Linked DNA regions of Homo sapiens: regions 1 and 3 are each linked to region 2. Evidence: promoter capture Hi-C in human tissues and cell types (Jung and others, 2019). All regions are on one chromosome and are shown on one strand. Each heading gives the region's core, a stretch centred on a gene start or on the middle of the fragment in contact. The rest is flanking DNA. Distances are from core to core; before and after follow the strand shown.

Region 1 (4,345 bases), core at 734-3,233, 520 kb after region 2:
TGTACTTAGATTGATGCCTAGACTTTCTACTATGTTCCATTAGTGTGTCTGTCTATATGCACCAATTTTATACTAGTTTGATTATGAAGGTTTTGTAATATCTTAAATGTCCGATAAGACTGGCCCCTCCTCATTGCTCTTCTTTTCAGGACTTTCTTGGATATTCTTGTTATTTCTTCCATATGAACTTAAGAATCAATTTGTATAACTAAAAAACAAAGTGAAACAAAAAAACCCTTGGCTTTTTTATTGGAATAATGTTAAATTTACAAATTCACTTAGAATGTCTTTCATTTTTTTCAGGTCTGTTTTATGTCTCTGAAGCTATTATATTAATAGTTTTCCTCATAGGCTTTACATATTTCTTTTACCTTTATACCTAGGAGTTTTGTAATTGTGGTCACTATTACCAATTGGCTCTTGATTCCATATTATTTTCTAACTGGTTCATCCTTGTATCTTACGTGTGAAGCCTGTTGACTTCTGTATATAGCTTTTATATTCTGCTACCATATAGATTCATCTTTTTGTTTGTGTAGTTTATTCATTGATTTGCTTTTGTTATCTAGGTATACCTATATCATCAACAGTTTTCACACATCCAATAGGTTTCTTTTGTAAAAATGCATTGGCAAATACCTCCAACATCGTGTTAATGTTACAGTAATGGTGGGTATCCTTGTCTTGTTTCAGACATTAACAGGAATGCCTCCAGTGTTTTCCTATGAAAATAGTAAGATGATGATAAACAAGATGCTGTATGATGTTAAGAAAATTATCTCCCATTCTTCTTTTGTAACTTACTTTTATAGGAAATTCAACTTTAATTTTTTCAAATGCTTTTTCAGCACCTAGGAAGATAATTACAGGACTTTCCTTCTTAGATATAATTATATTAATTATATTAATGAATTTCCTAACATTGGACCATCTTTACCTTCCCAAAACAGTTTCTACTTTGTCATGACATACTGTGCTGTCTAATTCAATTTGCTAATTTTTTTAAGCATTTCTGCCTATGATATTCATAAATGATATTGGTTTGTAATTATCTCTTTTGTATAATCTTTATTAGGTTTTGGTTTCAATGCTATATTTATGTCATTAAAAATTTTTGAATTGGGATAAGGGGTCTTCAAAGAATATCATTTTAAACCATCTTGGACACTTTTAGAAAGAGATATATATATAGGCCAGGCATGGTGGCTCATGCCTGTAATCCTAGCACTTTGGGAGGCTGAGGTGGATAGATCACCTGAGGTCAGGAGTTTGAGACCAGCCTGGCCAACATGGCAAAACCCTGTCTCTACTAAAAATACAAATATTAGCTGGGCGAGGTGGCATGCCCCTGTAATCCCAGCTACTAGGGAGACAGAGGCAGGAGAATCACTTGAACCTGGGAGGCGGAGTTTGCAGTGAACTGAGATGGCGCCACTGCACTCTAGCCTGGGCAGCAGAGCAAGACTCCATCTCAAAAAAAAAAAAAAAGAAAGAAAGATATATACACAGAGTCTCTCTCTCTCTGTTGCCCAGGCTGAAGTGCAGTGGCACCATCTCAGCTCACTACAACCTCCGCCTCCTGGGTACAAGCGATTCTCCTGCCTCAGCCTCCTGAGTAGCTGGGATTACAGGCACTCATCACCACGCCCGGCTAATTTTTGTATTTTCAGTAGAGGCAGAGTTTCACCATGTTGGCCAGGCTGGTCTCGAACTCCTGACCTCAAATGATCCACCCACCTGGGCCTCACAATGTGGTGGGATTACAGGTGTGAGCCACTGCGCCCAGCCTAGGAGTCATTCTTGACCACAATACCCTTCTCCAACTTGTAACCAATCACCAAGTTCTATCAGTCCTAACACTAAAATATTTCAAATTCACCCCCTTCTCTCCCTTTCTATGGCCACCACTCAAATCTAAGCCTGCTTGACTTTTTGTCCAGATCACTTAGGCTGCTGTTTTCTCTATTTTAATCCTTGCCTTGGCTCCACTATAATCCATTCTTCTTTAAAAAGTCAAAGTGGTCCTTTAAAAACACACATGTGGTCATGTCACTTGAATAAAACCTGTTGATAGGCTTCTTGTTCTTTTGGGATACAGTTCAGAATCCTTAACATGTCCCCCAAGACCGCACCTGATCTGGAGCCTCCCTACCTTTCCAGCTTCTTGTCTTCTCATTCTGGCCTCTTCCTTGTCTTCCAGGTTCCTAAGCTCTTTCCTCCTTAGGGTCTTTGAATACCCTGACCCTGCTCCATTGGCTGGGAGGCCCCCTCCCCACACCTCCACACCTTTGACCTGGTTGTTTCCACCCATCTTCCAGGTCTATGCTCAGGGAAGCTTTTCTTGACCTCCCAGCCTGAATTAGGTCCTCTACTGAATCATCCTATTACCCTCTCTACTATTTCTCTTTGTTTATTTGGGCACTATAACAAAAGTACTGTAAACTGGGTGTCTTGTAAACAACAGAAATTTATTTCTCACAGCTCTGGAGGCTGGGAAGTCCAAGAAATCCCAGATGTTGGTGTCTGGTGAGGCCCCACTTGCTCATAGATAGAACTTTCTCACTGTGTCCTCATATGGTGGAAGGGGCAAAGTTCCCTCTTTTAGAAGGGCACTAGTCTCATCACGAGGACTGTGCTCCTATGACCTAATAACCTCCTTCATGAAGGCCCCACCTCTTAATACTGTCACCTTGGGGGGTGGTTAGGATTTCAACATATGAACTTTGAGATGACATAAATAGTCAGTCCATTGCACTTTTCCTTTACAGAAGTCATCACTATTGTGACTATTTAGGCATACAGGTGACTATCTAATATTTGTTTCTCACATCAAACTGTAATTTTCCTAGTGATCAGGACCATATTTCTCTTGATCTTAGCTGGCTGGATCTTTAGTGTCTATCACAACAAACAGCACAGTGACAGAACTTAATAAGTATTTGTTGAATTAATGGGTGAATTAATCAATCAACCAATTAATGATATAATCAAAGACTCAATGAATGAACCAAGAACGAATCATTCAACTTTGGGCAAGAAGCAAGAAGGAGCAAATGCTCTACTTGCCCTCCAGGGGGAGACACACTCCCATTAGAAATAGCATAGACCCAGGTGAGCAGAAAATTCTGACATTGATTGTAATTTGCTTCTCAAATGGATTCAGAGAACCAGATCTTTTTTCTTTTCCTTTCTTTTCTCTTTGTCTTGCTCATAGAACTCTCCAGATTAATCTGGACCACCCAATTGTACCAAGCAAGTAGTCATTTCCTCTGTAATTTCCCTCCCCTGGACGACATTAACTCTCCTACCAGTTTGTCCCCTTCAGTCTTGATTTGCTAGGTAATTTAGCTATAAATGCCTACATTCTTGGAAAAATAGTATCATATATATATATAATTTCAGTATTATCATTAAAATTGTTATTTGTATTTTTACTGTACTTTTTTTTTCAAAATCCTTCAGGCAATTTTTCTCTATGAAGACTGAAAATGTTTTATAATTGCTCTGATAGTGGAAAATATTGGTAGACTATATGACCAAAAATAATAACAAAATATTGATTAAAAGCCAATTTTTAAAAAATAGATAATTCATAAAATTTCCCAAGCCCTGGGGAAAGTTAAAAGGAAAAAAAAAAAAGAGTAGAGTTTGGCTATTGAGCGCATGTCTGCCTCTGAGCAGTTTCTGAAAGAAGTCCTTGTTTAATCCTGATGGCATGTCTTGGGAGAGTATCCCTGCTGCACATTAATACTGTTCTTTTCTTTGCTGAATTACTTTCTCTAGTACAAGGTTTAAGCATATGAAAGGTTTCATGAGACTTACATTATGTTTCCTCTGAACTTTCTTTTTCTTTGCTCTAGTTCCAAAGCTTCCTTTTCAATTTTTCTACGTCAGGGACTAGGACATAGAGGCACTCCACTATTCCCATTTTTGGGAGATCTGTTCATTTTAGTTCAATTCCATTGTATTTATTAAATAACTATTGTGTGTTTAGAACTGTGCAATGACAAAAGAGATGAGTATAGAAATCTAAATCTCTGCTCTTTTAAAGGCGCCACAATGTAACTGGGAGGATGAGATATTTGGTAACCTCCTTGAACAAATATAAAATCATATAAAGATGACATGTCAACATTTATGTAGTTTACAAAACCACTTTTCACAAATGTGGTCTAGGTTTTATGAAATTAACTTTTGGAGTAGGTGTTAATACTCTCATCCCATTGTACAACTGAGACTCAGGTAAAGTATTACTTACTTTAGTAAGTAATTTTACTTTTACTTATAAAAGTACTTACTTTTACAAGTAAAGTAACTAGAGCTACTATCAGAACTGGAATCTTGG
Region 2 (4,107 bases), core at 1,244-3,743:
AGCAAGACTCCATCTCAAAAAAAAAAAAAAAGCCATCTACTTTGTTAAACAGAACAAAGAATTTGCTGACATCTTGAGCTCTTAATATCTGCTCCCTCCTTTCACTTAGAAGTGGTTCTAGGCCGGGCATGGTGGCTCACGCCTGTAATCCCAGCACTTTGGGAGCCTGAGGTGGGCAGATCACGAGGTCAGGAGTTGGAGACCAGCCTGGTCAATATGGTGAAACCCTGTCTCTATTAAGAATATAAAAAAATTAGCCGAGCATGGTGGCGCACACCTGTTGTCCCAGTTACTTGGGGGGTAGGCTGAGGAAGAAGAATCCCTTGAACCCAGGAGGCGGAGGTTGCAGTGAGCCGAGATCGCGCGCCACTGCACTCCAGCCAGCCGGGGCGACAGAGCAAGACTCCCGCTAAAAAAAAAAAAAAAAAAAAGAAGTGGTTCTAAATAGTAATGTTTTGTCTGTCTTGGACTTACAAGAAGGATTCTTTTTTCAACTAAGACCTTCAGTAAATTCATTGAAAGAAAGTCTTTTGTTTCTTCCCCATCTATTCCTGTGTCTCTTCATATTGTTCACTACAGTAGTTTTAATGTTGCTTTTTGATATTACTACATTTGGTTGCAGATTCGGATTCCCAAATTTTCTGTGACATGACTGCCTCTGGCTGTTTTTTAATTATAGGGTGTTTATAACAAAACATCTTTTTTCGTACTCCTGAGGGTTGGTCTGTTTGCTTATGTATATAAATCATTGTTATTAATATTATGTTTGTATTGCATCCATAATCCAAAGCTATCCTAGAATGTTCACTCCAAGAGAGCAGGGTTATCTTCCTTGTTCTCTCCTGGCACTTAGGTGCTCAATAAATATTCGTTGAATGAATGAATTTCAGGCCTTCTTCTAGGGCTGCTCTAGTCTCTGGAAACAGCACAACCCCCAAGGTTTTTTTTTTTTTTTAATAATTTATCGGTCCTATAGTGTATTTATTTATTTATTTATTTATTTATTTATTTATTTATTTGAGATGAGGTGTCTCCATATTGCCCAGGCTGGGATCGAACTCCTGAGCTCAGGTGATCTTCCCACCTCAGCTTTTCAAAGTGCTGGGATTACAGTGGTGAACCATGACGCCCAGCCTTAGTGTTTTTCTTGAGGGCTGTGGAATCTTTATGTTCACTTCCACTGGGACTCATGCTCACTTGCTCGTTAGGCATGGATAAAACATCTTTCTTAAACTGACAGTGAGGAGATAAGAGATGCTGGAAAGCAAAAAATGTCTAGAAGGGTTATGGGAAGAAAGCTAGGAATCATTTCTACAAGTGGTGGAGATGACAGAAAGATGCTTTTAAACTAAAAATCCTTAAAGGATGGTATGATTGGTATTGTGTCTGTCATTTTTATGATACCTGCATTATTTAGCATGGAATTTTAAAGACAGGGCACACAGTTATGAGAAGCAGCCCTAAACTAGAACAAATATTTCCTTATTCTCAGTCCAATGCTCTTTACTATATAAGAGGCAATAAGGGATAAAGAATGCGGGCTGGGTTCAAATTCGTCTTCCTTTCCCATTTAATAGCTATGGTCCCATTCTGTTCCTCAGTCCTCTTATCTGTAAAATGGACATAATACTAACCTGTACCTCTTAGGGTTGCTTTGAAAAATTCAATGACTTTATACATGTAATTCCCAGAATCAGTAAACACCCAAAAAATGTTTCTCAGTGTTCTCTATACCAAATGTTCAGTACATGTATTGAACTGTTCACAAAAGAAAGCTAAAGACTTTTTATGTGTAAACAGTGATCCTCCAGCCTCTGTCTGATTTATTTTTTATTTATATATTTTTTTGAGACGGAGTTTCGCTCTTGTTGCCCAGGCTGGAGTGCAATGGCGCGATATCGGCTCACCGCAATCTCCGCCTCCCAGGTTCAAGAGATTCTCCTGTCTCAGCCTCCCGAGTAGCTGGAATTACAGGCGTGCACCACCACGCCCGGCTAATTTTGTATTTTTAGTAGAGACGGCGTTTCTCCATGTTGCTCAGGCTGGACTCGAGCTCCCGACCTCAGGTGATCTGCCAGCCTCAGCCTCCCAAAGTGTTGGGATTACAGGCGTGAGCCACCGCGCCCGGCCTGTCTGTCTGATTTTATACTAGCTGTGTACAGTGGTGAGGGAACAGCAGCCTAGGACCACAGACTGAGGGTCCAAAAGTAGCCGGAAAACGAGCCACGCTGCAAGGTGGAAAAATATTAGCTGGCAACCCGCCCCGCAGCCCGCTCTCCGCCCCCTTCCCCGGCTCACTCTCCTCCGGGCGGAGTTGCTGACAGACAGTCTGTCTTAGCCACCCCAACCTCGCATTTTCTCAGCGCTCCGCCCTCCCAGACACGATAGGTAGTTGGTCTCGGCCAATGGCGACATCCTGTCATACGAGCGGTAGCCAATGAGTAGCCAGGAGTCCGGAAAGGGGCGAGGCCGATCTGAGAGCCGCTGGCGCCACTAGAGAAGGGCGAGCGGCGCGGCAGAGTGCGGCGCAGCGCAGCTCCTGAGGTAAGATGGCGGTGCTCTTTCCTCTAAGCTCTTGCGGTTGGGCTGCTATTTCGCTCTTTTTGTCAGCTCAGAGCTGCTACTCCGCCTCAAAGCAGTGTCAGAGTCAGTCTCCTTCCTGCAGGCTTCCAGGAGCCAGGATCTCCGGTGACTGGAGCCGTAGGACAAAATGGCGCTCGCATAGGCTTCCGAGGCCAGGCCCAGTCGTGCGCTCTGAGGCAGGCCGGGACAAAGGCGGCGTGCGGGGAGGCGGCGTGGCCGCCGCGTGGGGCTGGTGTTGTCGCTTCCCTTCGTGCTGCAGCTGTGCGAGTCCTGAAGATACATTCAGCGTGGTGTGGTTCGGGGTGGGGCCGGGCATGGAGGGACACGCTAAAGGGAGGCAAAGCCACAGATGCCTGTGGAGACTTGGGGAGGGCGGCGGGGACTTACGGAGCGTACCTTACGGGGACGACTTCTGCATGTCCTTTGGAAACTGTCCGCGCGATCTGTGTGGAGCAGGAATTTTCGGGAAGGGTAAGGGCTTTTTGGTCTTTCGTTTGACCCCGCAGGTTTTGGTTATGAACAGGATTCGGATTCACGTCTTGCCAACCAATCGGGGGAGGATCACTCCAGTGCCCAGGTCTCAGGAACCTCTGTCTTGTGCATTCACTCATCGTCCATGCTCTCACCCTCGTCTGGAGGGGCAGGAGTTTTGCATTAAGCATATCCTTGAAGACAAGAATGCACCCTTCAAGCAGTGTAGTTATATATCGACGAAGAATGGAAAAAGATGTCCCAATGCTGCCCCAAAGCCAGAGAAGAAAGATGGGTATATATGTATAGATATATATGTCGTTTTTCTTAAAGCGAGGGGGTATGTGATATGATGCGGGCTTCAGCATAGCTGCCGCGTTTGAGATTTTGTCCTTGTAAATTTGGGGTTATGGTTGTATCCTTGGAAAACTGAAAAAACGGTGAAGACTGGAAAGACCCTTGAGTTGGATTACTTAGTTCACCTCTTTGGTTCTTTTCCCTTATCTGTAAAATAAAGGCATATTCTAAATTAGTCTTTTTTTTTTTTTTTTTTTTTTTAAGAGAGATGGGGTCTTGCTATTTTGACCAGGCCGGTCTCAAACTCCTGGCCTCAAGGTATCCTCCCATCTCGGCCTCCCAGAGTGCTGGGATTACAGGCGTGAGCGACCGCGCCCGGCCCTAAAGTTAATTTTTTGGCGGGGGGGCGGCGCACAGATTCTTGCTTTATTCCCCAGGCTGGAGTGCAGTGGAGATCTCGGCTCACTGCAACCTCCTCCTTCCAGGTTCAAGCGATTCTCCTGCCTCCTAAGTAGTTGGGACTTAAGGCGTGCGCCACTATGCCCGGCTAATTTTTGTACTTTTTAGTAGAGACGGGGTTTCACCATGTTGGCCAGGCTTGTTTTGAACTGCTGACCTCAGGTGATCCATCCGCCTCGGCCTCCCAGAGTGTTGGGATTACAGGAGTGAGCCACCGCACCTGGCCCCTAAAATTCTTCTTAATGGAGGGGTGTGTGGCTCTATTTGGCTGTCCATGAATTTTGTTAAATAACATGC
Region 3 (4,386 bases), core at 718-3,217, 600 kb after region 2:
GGTTGCAGTGAGCTGAGATCATGCTGCTATAGCTCCAGCCTGGGTGACAGAGTGACCTCGTCTCAGAAAAAAAAAAAAAGATAGTCACAGAGAACTTTATGCTAGTTATTCCAACTTTATAAGCTCTATCTAACAAAACTTACATGGATTATTAAAGGCAGATGAAATCTGGCTTAGAAACTTTTCCCTCAGATATTTTGTTATATTAGTATTTATTATATTAGTAAACATTTCTTTTTTAAAATAGTATTTATGACTACTTAAATTCTGCCCTGGTATATTTTAGGAATGTGGGATTATTTAGTGTACTGTTTAGTCAAGTTTGAGCTTTATGGTGTTGATAGAAGCCAACAAGATGGCTTTTATTATTTTATGCACATGGACTCCAGGAATGTGTCAATACTCCCTGGGATCATGTTCCTCACTTAACTTTTAAAAAATTATACAGTAATTCACTCATACACTCACATTGTAGAAATCAACACATTACCAGCAAAGCTGAAGATCCCTTGACCACTACCCACAATCCCAATCCCTTTTCCTTGGTGTGTTTCCTTCCAAACCTTTTCCTATACCTATTTCTCTCTTACTCTTTCTTACTCATATATAGTATGATATATATGTTGTGTATACTATTAAATGTATGATATTATTTTGTCTTCATTAAAGATTTTCTATATGCATCATTTAGCAGGTGGCTTTTTTAATGCAATAAAGCCATGCTGTTATTTTAAAAAAATGTTATTACAGAAGTAGTACAAATACTTTGGGAAAGTTTAGAAAATATAGTTAAGAAAAATAAAAAATAAAAACATCACATTGCCACCAGCCTGAGATCAACTCTGTAATATCTTAGTACATATCCTTCTACATACTTTTCTCTACTTTTTTTCCAAAATGAGTTTATAGTATACATATTCTTTTGTAAATTTTGTTTTATACCCTAAGTCATATTTAAATTTTCTCAGTTGACCCAAAAGTATCTTTTATAGTTAGTTTAGTTTTGCATCTGGAAGTTATTGGCTTTGTCACTTATAACTAGAACAGCCTTTTTTTGTTTTGTTTTGTTTTGTTTTGTTTTGTTTTTTTGTTTTGTTGAGACGGAGCCTTGCTCTGTCGGCCAGGCTGGAATGCAGTGGTGTGATCTCGGCTCACTGCAACCTCCGCCTCCCAGGTTCAAGCAATTCTCCTGCCTCAGCCTTCCGAGTAGCTGGGACTACAGGTGCCCGCCACCATGTCCTGCTAATTTTTGTATTTTTAGTAGAGACGGCATTTCGCCATATTAGCAAGGCTAGTCTCGAACTCCAGACCTTGTGATCTGCCTTCCTTGGCCTCCCGATCCCTTCCTGGGATTATAGGCATGAGCCACCATGCCCAGCCTCAGCCTCCTTTTTTTAAATGACATGACTTTTCTGTATAATGTTCTACTTTTTGGATTTGGCAGGTTGCTTCCTCGTGGTATCATTATTTTGTCAAAAAATCACCTGTATTTTTTATAAGCTAGGTTTTAGATGTGACTAAAAGGTGTGCTGCATTTATCACATTTGAAAAACAAACAGTATCTTGTTTTGGTTCTCCTATTATTCATGATGCTAGACTGACCTCTGGATTGAGGAACTGACAGTCTGGTGGTTAATTGTACAGTTAGGTTTTTTCCCGTGTGACTTGAATGTAATCTAAATAATGTTACTTTGGCGTTATATGAATGATGAATTTCACATCAGCCATCACCTAATAATTAATATCATTTGCTAATACCTGATAATAGTTTTATTAGAGTTAATGAAATAATATTTTTCTAATTTTATCACTTTTACACTTCTTAATTGGCATTCTGATTGCATTTTTCCTTAGCTGGGGCTATTAGAGTCCCTGAAATGTGTTTCCTATGGGAAAGGCCTGATACATGATTAGATTTTTCTTTTTCATTACCAGTTTTCAAAGCAAGGTTTTTGTAAAATAGACACTTCATATGTTTCAAATGAATTTGTCTGTTCCTTTTTTAGTGTCATTATGGATTCAGTATTTTGTAATCCACTATAATTGTTATACTTTTAATGCTCACATTCTCAGAAATTTGGCTAGTGGAAGCCCTTTAAGCTTGCTTCTGTCTGTTTGACCTTAACTCATGAATTTTGGGTAACACCCTTGCTTTCTGTCATTGCAGGATGCCCTTGTACTGTTTCTTTAGAAGAGTAATCTTTTATGTTAAAAAAAACATGCATAGGCGCACGCATACTCTGGGAAACACAAATACAGAAGACATTGTGGAGAATCCATCATGTCTTTACCAAACAATTGCACTGCCCTTGCCATCTTTTCCTAGCTGCATCCACTCATCCTAAGAAAATAAGCCTGTTCCTAAAATTCTAAGTCCTTGCTCATTTCCCCATTCTTTTTTTTTTTTTTTTTTTTTTTTTGAGAGAAGCAAGAATATGACTGTAATTTAACATCAACAATGACACTGTGTAACAGCACAGGGAAGAGGTAGTGGAGAGAGATGGTCAGGCTTCCTGTTCCTTAACCAGCCTTGATTTTAACAGCAGAGCCCCAGCAACCTAGAAGCGCCTCACCTAGCCTCTTAATGGAGTGGGAAGGGGCAGGGACTTGGAAATTAGAGGCTCAAAATGTAAAGAAGGCTGATGGCAAGCCTGGGGAGAGGCCTGAGAATGAGGGAAGGGCTGAGGGCTGTGAGGAGTCCTCACACAAAGACCCTAGCACAGGTCTTCGGCAGTGAACATGCCCCTGGCCCTCCGCAGGGTGGAGTCCTTGGCGTCCTCATATGGGTGCTCCTTGGAGGGGATCTCCAGGACAGTAGGGATAGAGTGCTGGTGGGTGTCCAGGGCATGCTGCACCATCTCTGCGATGTACTGGTTGATGAGGATGATGCCAGTGTCATCCCGGTTTAGAAATTGCCGGAAAGTGTCTTCGATCTCATTGATGGTCGTATCCTTCTCCACCACCAGGAAATTGGGGTGGCAGTTCTTGTTAAGCTCCCCTATGCTGCCCAGCAGGAAACCAGTCACCGTGTCCTTGTCTCTGATCACTGCGATGAGCTTCCTTCTCCCCGCCATCCCTGCAGCCAGGCAGAGCTCACCCCAGAGCACCAGAAGCCACTCTCATTTCCCCATTCTTAACACACGTACAAACCCAAGAAGACTTAAAGAGAATTATGCACTGTTTGATTTTCTTTAGATCTTGTCTGATTTGGATTCAGACCACATGTAATGATTTTAAAGAGTTGATTTCATTGAATTTAGAATATTCAGCTGTGTTTCTCTAGTCTGAGTCTTGAAGAAAAAAGAAAATGTATTATGCTAAGAATAAGTACCTCAAACTTTCCAGGTAATGATAAATGAGAAAGAGCACATAGAAAAAACTCAAAATTGGCTGGGTGCTGTGGCTCACATGTGTAATCCCAGCACTTTGGGAAGCTGAGGCCGGCGGATTACCTGAGGTCAGGAGTTCAAGATCAGCCTAGCTAACATGGTGAAACCCTGTCTCTACAAAAATACAAAAATCACCTGGGTGTGGCGGCGGGTGCCTGTAATCCCAGCTATTCGGGAGGCTGAGGCGGGAGAATCACTTGAACCTGGGAGGTGGAGGTTGCTGTGAGCCAAGGTCGTGCCACTGCCTCCAGTCTGAGTGACAGAGCAAGATTCCATCTCAAAAAAAAAAAAAAAAAAAACTCAAAATTAGTAAGCCTTAGATATAAGACAGGGTTTTTGAGTTCACAATATTCTTCTTGCCAATTTGCCAATTTTTCCCATTAGATAGTATAAAGAGACAAAAAATTCTTCAGAGGAAGTAAATAGGCCAGAAGGAGAATTTAATGACGCAGCCTAATAGTTGTTTTTAATGAAGGATGGGAGCCCTCTGTTGGTCTTTAAGGAAATTTAAAAATTCAGTTTAAAAGCTTAGTTGAGAGGCTTCAGCCTTTATGCATTTTTACATATTTAATCTTAATTTCCTCCAACAGGCTGGGTACAAGGGGTACAGGGAATAATAGAAAATGTATGTGTTGTTAGCATACCTGGAACCCAGGTTTTTTGAAGACATCTAATCTGTTATGCTTTGTCATACCACAAAACTATATGGTTTCTGACCAAAATAAATTCTAGATTGTGGATCTAAAAATGCAGTTTTAAGTGTTTGATAATTTTGACAATGTAAGATCTTTTAAGTGGCAGAACCTGATGCAGCATCCTTATATATCATTTATTCATTTATTGTATCTTTCCCTCAAATGGGAAACCTATTATTTTACCTGTTTTGTTTGGTTGGTTTTATATTTTGAAAGTGAAAATAATCTCTAGGTTGGATTTATTTTACTTATTATCTGTTCTTATCTTTCTTACAAACTCTTTTTTTAGTGGATTATCAAAC

What was found. The method cuts DNA at HindIII sites, captures the fragments that hold promoters and counts their contacts. A contact is called where the count stands out against the background at its distance.
Region 1: a contact is called between a fragment that was not itself captured here and the fragment with the promoter of KANSL2 in region 2, in 1 of the 25 tissues and cell types used here (dorsolateral prefrontal cortex).
Region 3: a contact is called between a fragment that was not itself captured here and the fragment with the promoter of KANSL2 in region 2, in 1 of the 25 tissues and cell types used here (hippocampus).

The regions. Positions count from the first base shown.
Region 1 is chr12:48,164,026-48,168,370 of GRCh38, reverse strand. No RefSeq gene overlaps it. Among named protein-coding and RNA genes, the nearest start is that of ASB8, 8.7 kb to the right of the region's middle. RefSeq lists silencers at 2,951-3,245, 3,011-3,305. The HindIII fragment of the contact is 4,714 bases long and covers 1-4,340 here.
Region 2 is chr12:48,680,624-48,684,730 of GRCh38, reverse strand. KANSL2 (KAT8 regulatory NSL complex subunit 2) reads left to right here and starts at 2,493. Exons shown (of 10, transcript NM_017822.4): 1 at 2,493-2,544; 2 at 3,090-3,349. The coding sequence starts at 3,099. RefSeq lists silencers at 2,146-2,195, 2,236-2,445 and an enhancer at 2,526-2,795. The HindIII fragment of the contact is 9,488 bases long and covers 1-4,107 here.
Region 3 is chr12:48,083,750-48,088,135 of GRCh38, reverse strand. SENP1 (SUMO specific peptidase 1) reads left to right here. Exons shown (of 18, transcript NM_001267594.2): 6 at 4,374-4,386. LOC101927180 (V-type proton ATPase subunit F-like) reads right to left here and starts at 3,682. Exons shown (of 1, transcript XM_047429952.1): 1 at 963-3,682. The coding sequence starts at 3,074. The coding sequence ends at 2,715. The HindIII fragment of the contact is 5,780 bases long and covers 1-4,386 here.